Linked DNA regions of Homo sapiens: region 1 is linked to region 2. Evidence: promoter capture Hi-C in human tissues and cell types (Jung and others, 2019). All regions are on one chromosome and are shown on one strand. The core of a region is centred on a gene start or on the middle of the fragment in contact, and the rest is flanking DNA. Distances in the headings are between cores, read along the strand shown.

Evidence for each region. The method cuts DNA at HindIII sites, captures the fragments that hold promoters and counts their contacts. A contact is called where the count stands out against the background at its distance.
Region 1: a contact is called between a fragment that was not itself captured here and the fragment with the promoter of ADAMTS7 in region 2, in 1 of the 25 tissues and cell types used here (hippocampus).

The regions. Positions count from the first base shown.
Region 1 is chr15:78,283,861-78,287,275 of GRCh38, forward strand. SKIC8 (SKI8 subunit of superkiller complex) reads right to left here. Exons shown (of 11, transcript NM_025234.3): 9 at 2,181-2,273; 10 at 1,401-1,479. Among named protein-coding and RNA genes, the nearest start is that of SKIC8, 14 kb to the right of the region's middle. The HindIII fragment of the contact is 6,679 bases long and covers 1-3,415 here.
Region 2 is chr15:78,809,485-78,812,713 of GRCh38, forward strand. ADAMTS7 (ADAM metallopeptidase with thrombospondin type 1 motif 7) reads right to left here and starts at 1,980. Exons shown (of 24, transcript NM_014272.5): 1 at 1,637-1,980. The coding sequence starts at 1,736. RefSeq lists a silencer at 2,008-2,427. The HindIII fragment of the contact is 14,119 bases long and covers 1-3,229 here.

The DNA.
Region 1 (3,415 bases), core at 4-2,503, 530 kb before region 2:
GCTTCCAGGAAGAAAGAGCCCCACAACTACCCCGAGGTCACTGCCTATAGGGAAAGTCACAAACTGCGCTCCTCAGCTGACCCCTTGTGTCCGCCCCCCACAGTCAGTAATTCTCACTCTGTTATTAGTGGCCTATGGAGCCTGCCTGTCCCCAGGAGCTAGACAACATGATATTGTGGACCATAGATTTTTATTTGCTATGTGTTAAATTAACTGATTCACACCTCCTTCCCAGACAGAATTGATGTGGTTGGAGTTTCTCTAATCATAAATAACTTCCTGATTATTAGGAGGTGATTCTGGGTGGTAAGCCTGTCACCCTACTCTGATTTTAGTGTTGGGATTGGGCTGCATGATGGCCTTTCACTCCAGCCTCTGACACAGCACCGCAATGATCCATACATACAAGGAAACACAGCTAGCCAGGACTTACTCCCTGAGTAAGATGCTTAAATCCAGAAGTGGAATATCAAGATAGAACCCCCTCAATTTTGTTGGGACAATTTAAGTTGAAAAATAAGCATGAACAATGTTAGTTAACTTTAAGTTCCATTTCAAAGAGGAGAAATCTATAGGACCATCTAAAAATATTTAAAATATATTAAAAGCCAATATTATATTGCCATGGACATTTTATTTTTTATGCTCAGTTCCCCAAGACCTTACAGTGTGGTTAGGACCAGCAGCCTTGGCCTCACCTGGAAGCCTGTTAGAAATGCAGAATCCCAGGCCCTCTGCCAGACCTAGTGAAGCAGCATCTGCATTTTCACCAGGTTCCCAGGGGATACGAGCACACATGAAAGACTCAGCAGTATTGCACTAGAACACCTTTGCTATTTCACATATTCACCTTGGCAAAGATAAAGTTGCTTGTGAGAACAGTTTCCTTTTAAAGACTGAAAAGTTATCAATAACACTAAAGCCAAAAAACTTGTATGAATTTCCAGCTTCTACTATATTAAAAAAAAAAAAATCACATCTCTTCTTTGGACAGTCCCAAAAATGACAAGCGATGATTGTGTTTAAGCAATGGAATCTCCTGAAGAGGAAGGTCCTTGGTGAGCCTGCCATGGCGCAGCAGCCCCCAGGAGAGGGCCCCAGACACCAGCTGCAGCAATTTCCAAAGACGGCATTTAAAGGCTGTGGGGCTAACACCATGTTTTCCAGCCTATGTGGGGATATGCCTCGTGAGTTGCTAGGCTGACAGCACATCCCAGCCTCTGCACCCCAGACTCTGCACAGGAACTCTGGCTACATGGATGACTGAGCAGATAGAGCAGCTCAGGCCCAGGCATCTACTGGTATCCACAGCTCAAGCAACAAGGTCAGGAAAAGAAAATCTCTTTGGTACAATGGTCAAACAACCCCGACTATCTAAAGATGAAATAATAATGCCATACCTGATCCTGGTGATCAAAGAAGGTGTGAACACAAGTCCTCGTTCCAACATCCCAAACTTTTACACTTTTGTCAGACGAACTATTTTAAAAAGTGAACATTAGTATCGGTTTGAAGTTGGAAGGACTTCGACCAAAAATCCTTTGATGACTTACATTCTTCTAACTTCAGACCCCCCAACCCCATGCCTCGGTACAGGAAATGGCCAGGTATCAGCATCATTGGGTGGCTTTCTCTCCTCACAGGGTAGCCATTTTCCTGAAATTGTGATCTGCCTGGCCCTCATATTAATTGTTCTCCAGGAGTCTCAGACACAGCTACCTATTTCCAGATGGGAGGGAGGCCTGTTAAAGCTTCAAAACCAAGGCTCGCAGGAGGCCTCTAAAGCACTGTGCAATGCCTTCAAGTTGTCCATCTCCTGCTTTCCAACTGTCTTGGCCATCCCAGGCCTGACCAACACTGGGATCTATAAACAACATTTTACAAACATTTACATATTTTAAGTTACCATTGGAACACAAGTCTACCTTAGAGTCACTTTGGTAGAAGCCTCAATTTATAATGAAAAAACTAAGAGTTTTACTGTTTAAAAGGATTACTTGTTGACTTTTGTTCCAGCTAAGGTCAACTAACATCACTAAATAAAAATTTTAAGAACTGCAGAAAAGAAAGGCTAACTGAATAAAAAAGGGTCAAACATCTTTAAATGTTAAGGCAATCTATACAAGAAGACTGCTCTCATCTCCCCAGCATTTTAGAAACTGCTAAGAATCATTAAGTACCTGGAAACAAAGTGAGTGTCATCAGGACAGAATGCAACGTTCAGCACCCAGGAGGCATGGCCGCTCAGCGTGCCAGCCAAATTGGCATGTTGTCTGAAATGGGAAAGTTTCAAACAAAATTGAGATGTTAATTTCTACAGTATAATCACTGAAGTGGAAAGTATATTATTAACTCTGCCAATAAGCTGGACCAAATCTGCTATCCTTATAATGACCATGAATACTATATCAAAAATTCCTCTTTCAATGAAGTAGCTTCATGCATTAGAGACAAATTTTAATAGTAGCATTAACCCATAATGTGTTGACACCACCAAAAGCCAAGAATAAAATCCTTCACAAGCAAAGAGCTGAAGCTCAAAATGAACAAAGAACCACACTACAGAGGCTTCGCAAGCCAACCCCTCAGATGAGGAAATTGAGAACCAACGGGGCAAGGAAGCCATCTGAGGAGAAGGGCAGGTTCAGACTCCTGCCTGCACCAGCAGCCTTTCCGTATGGGGCCAGTGCTCCCAGTCCAAGGAAAGTGTCAAGATGTATTCATTATGACAGATGCAGCTTGGAGAGACCAGTTTAAACCTAATCAAGAACAAGACAGGTCTAATTACAACAGCTATTTTCACTTTTTTAATAAAAATGAAACCCAACCACCTCTGGCAGGAGAACCACCATAAGACCTAACTGAGGTCAGCAATTTTACCCCTAAACACAGACCTCAGCAGAGTGGAGCAGACCTCAGTTAGGGGCTAGGGGGCAGGTGGGATACAGTGGGACCATGGGAGGGTAAAAAGTCCTGGGCCTTAGTAAAAAGATCAGTAGTTGATAGGGGCTCAAGGCAGGAGGAAGGGATGATTTGGTAGAGCAGGGGATTTTTAGGGCAGTGAAACTATTCTGCGTGACACTGTAGTTAGGGGTGGCTACACATAATTTTGTCAAAACTCATAGAATGTACAACACAAAGAGTAAACCCTAATGTAAACTACAGACTTTAATTAATAATAATGCATCAATATTGGGTGAAAAAAACATTCTTGGGTCTTCATTCAGTACCACCTCCTTGGGCAAATCAACCACCTCAGCTTGGGTTTCTCATGTGCAAAATGGGGACACTAATCTGTGCTGCTACCTCATTGGTTGCTGGGAGGATCAATAAAACAGTGGCAATAGAAATCATAAAGTCACAAATGTAAGGAACTGCTGCATTTATACTGCCTCTGCCACTAACAGGCAAGTAT
Region 2 (3,229 bases), core at 730-3,229:
TCAAACAGCAGGTCCAGGTCATCTGGGGAGTCCTGGGTCGGCCTGGCAGATTAATAAAAATAATGACCACTACATTGTAGTCACTGTGTCCTGCCTGAGCAACTGACATATTCAATATCTCATTTAATCCTCATAAGAATCCCACGAGGTTGACCGCACCCAACTCTTCCCACAGCTGCCAGGGGGCCAGGACCCAAGTCCTGAGGGAAGCATTTTCCTGCTCTCCCATTCCCATCGCCCGGTTCATCCTCCTCAGCCCCCAGCTCTGGACAGTGGAAAACACAAGCCTCATTCAGGAAGCTCAGGAGTCCAACCCCACAGGTCGCTCTACTCTGAGCCTGTTTGCTGGTCCATAAAAGGACTTTCCATCACTTGCTTTGCACGGTTGTTGTGGAGATGATGAGAAATAAGAACCCGTGAGGCTGGCACACAGTAGGTGCTCATTAAATGTTCGCTCCCTCTGCGCTCTGCGCATGGCTGCTAGACCAAATCTTTCCAAAACACTGCTTTCATCAGCTGCTCCCCTCAACGGCTTCCCAAACCTCTAAGATCAAGAGTCAATGTCCCCATCCTTCCCGCCCAGACTACTTTCTCGTCACAATCCCTCCAGTGGGGAGGCAGGTCGACCCCATCCCAGCAAGCAACCCTAATCCAGTCCCCCGACTGATGCTCCCCAGGGGAGGGCCCCACTCCCTCCACGCCCTTCTAGCTCATCCAGAATCCATCCATCCTTCCAGTCTCTCCAACCTCATGCCCCTCCTCTCCTACAAAGCCTGCCGGTCGGCTCTATTGCAGGACTCTCCCCACTATCCACCGGCTCCCCTGACTGGGAGCTCCCTGAGCACCGGGCCTGGGGTCTCCTACATCCTCGGTTACTGAATTCCCAGGCCGGCTGCGTCGGACGCGCCAGCAGCGCGGCCGCCCGGCAGGTCGCCGCCAAACAAGAGTCTGGACGCAGGCCAGAGGCTCGTCGGAGGCCGGCCCGGCGGGGCGGGGAGAGTTAACCCATGGCCGGGAAAAGAAGCTCCTGCTCCCCGCTCCACTCCCGGCGTCTTCACACTTGGGGAAGGGAGAGGCAGGAAGTGCAAGGACCGCGCAAGACCCGGCCCCCCGAGCCGCCAGGGGCCGCGCCAGCAGCCCAGATGCGGTGGGCGGGAGCTGGGGGGGCGGCGGGGTCCCGCGAAGACCTGCGACCTGGCGCCCTCGCCGGCTGTGTCCCGGCCAGCCCGCTTTCCAGGCGAGCCTCGCTAAGGAGTGTGAGAAACCAAATCCTCAGTGGGTAAACCGCGCTCCGTCCAGCCCACTCGGACGAGAGCTCTCCCGGGAGCCAGGCGCGTTGCTGCACCCGAGGTGGGGAAACCGGAGCCCGAAGAGCGGAAGGGGCTTATTCCAGGCGACAGGCAGTGTCAGTAACTGAATCAGGGGCCGAGGAAGTTTCCCCAGAAGCGCGGCTTCGCTCCCGGCCCGGCCCGACCCCGACTACTGTCCCCTAATACCCAGGGAGCGGAAGACGCGACCAACTCCAGGCACAGCGGAGCCGGCGCGGGGTCCACAAAGGTGAGGAGGGACAAAACCGAGACTGGGGGAGCGGGAAGGGGTGGCAGGCCCGGCTGGCCGGGGAGGGGCGGACACCCACCTGGTGCGGGTCCGGGGGCGCCGGGAGCCAGAGCGCAGAGGAGCAGGAGGAGGGGGCGCAGCAAAGGCGCGGGGCTGCGGGGACTGGGGCCGCCGGGCATGGCAGGAACCGGGCGGCCGCCGGGTGACCCCGCGCGCACGCTCTCGTCCGTCCCGTCCGGTCGCTGCCTGGTCCCAGGTCCGGCTCAGGACATGCCCGGCCGGCGTGCAGCTCCCGGCGACCCGGCCCCGACTCCGTTCGGCTGCGCTCGGTCCGCGGGCAACAAAGGCTGCAGGGCCCGCCCCCTTGGCCGCTGCAGAGGCAAAGAAAAGACAAGAGAGCTAGAAGGAGAGAAAGAAAGAAAGAAAGAAAGGGAGGGAGAGTGAGGGAGGGCGGCTGCCGGCCCCCGCCCCGCCCCTCGGACTCCTTCCCCCGCCCCTGGCCCCGCCCCGCCCCGGCCGGCCCCGGCCTCATCGGCCCCGCAGGCCGTGCTCGCCTCAAGGGCTGGCCGGCCCGGCGCAGGCAGCGCCCCGCAACGGATGTCCGCCCCCCTCGCCCCCCTGTCCCGAGCGCCCCCTGCCGGCGGAGCCCTGCCAGGCCTTTCCGACCCCGGCCGGTTGAGGACCCCCGGAAAGAATCTGGAATTTCCAGAATTAATGTGTTGTCCCTAAATTGGGCTCCACGAGGTGCCCTTCGCTGTGTTCCCCAGGCCAAGCAGGGCAGCCCCTCAAAAGGGGACGCGGGAGGCCTCCAGAGGGCCACACCGGGGGCCCTGCTTCAAAGCTATCTGCGGAGACAGGCCTGGGCCCTCCCTGGACAGACAGCGGTTGCCCGCGCGAGGTGGGGCCCCGCAGTTCCTCGTCTCCTGACTCCTCTCCTAGTGCGTTTGCTTGAAGCAGAGCGCAGAGTTGAGCCCACAGGCGGGGGACCGCGGCTTCGCCCAGGCCAGCGCCCACAGACTTTCAGCAGGGGCTCCCGGGGAGCCTGGAGGCCGGCCAACCCCAGCCTCACATCCCAGGCCAGCCTCCGCCTCCAACACCGGCCGTCTGTCCTTCGTGGCCCCAGCCCTGGCTCTGGCTTCCGGCTCCCCTTCCCCCTGTGCTCCCAGGAGCTTCCTTTCTCCCTTCTGCCGTCACTAAACATGGCCCTGTACCGAGGACGCCCGTCTTGTCCTCGGGGCGGTTGCGGTCAGCTTCCTCCCCTTGGTTAGTCTTTGTGTGCCCCCTGCCCTCTGAGGCCCGCACACCTCCTCATTGTCCAATCTCCTGGGCCCTTTCATTCAATTCCTGGAAGCTCACTTCTGGCTTCCTCTCCACCCTCAACCTGTCTGTCCTCTAGGGAATTTGTGTAGTACAGGGTCACCTACTTCCTCCATCTCATCTCCAGTGACCTTCCACTCCACCTCAGCCATCAGGTCTCAGGGCCAAAGCCTGGGCTGTGTCATCCCTCAGAACTGCTCCATCTTGGAAATCCGAAGCTCAGGTGCCCCCCTGTCAGACCCGACTCTGCAGTCCTTTCCACCTTCACAGTCCCACTATGTATTGCTCTTCCTCCAGTCCCTTGATACCTTCCTCTTCGCCCAACCTACCAGCCCCTCCTGGCTTCACCTACTTC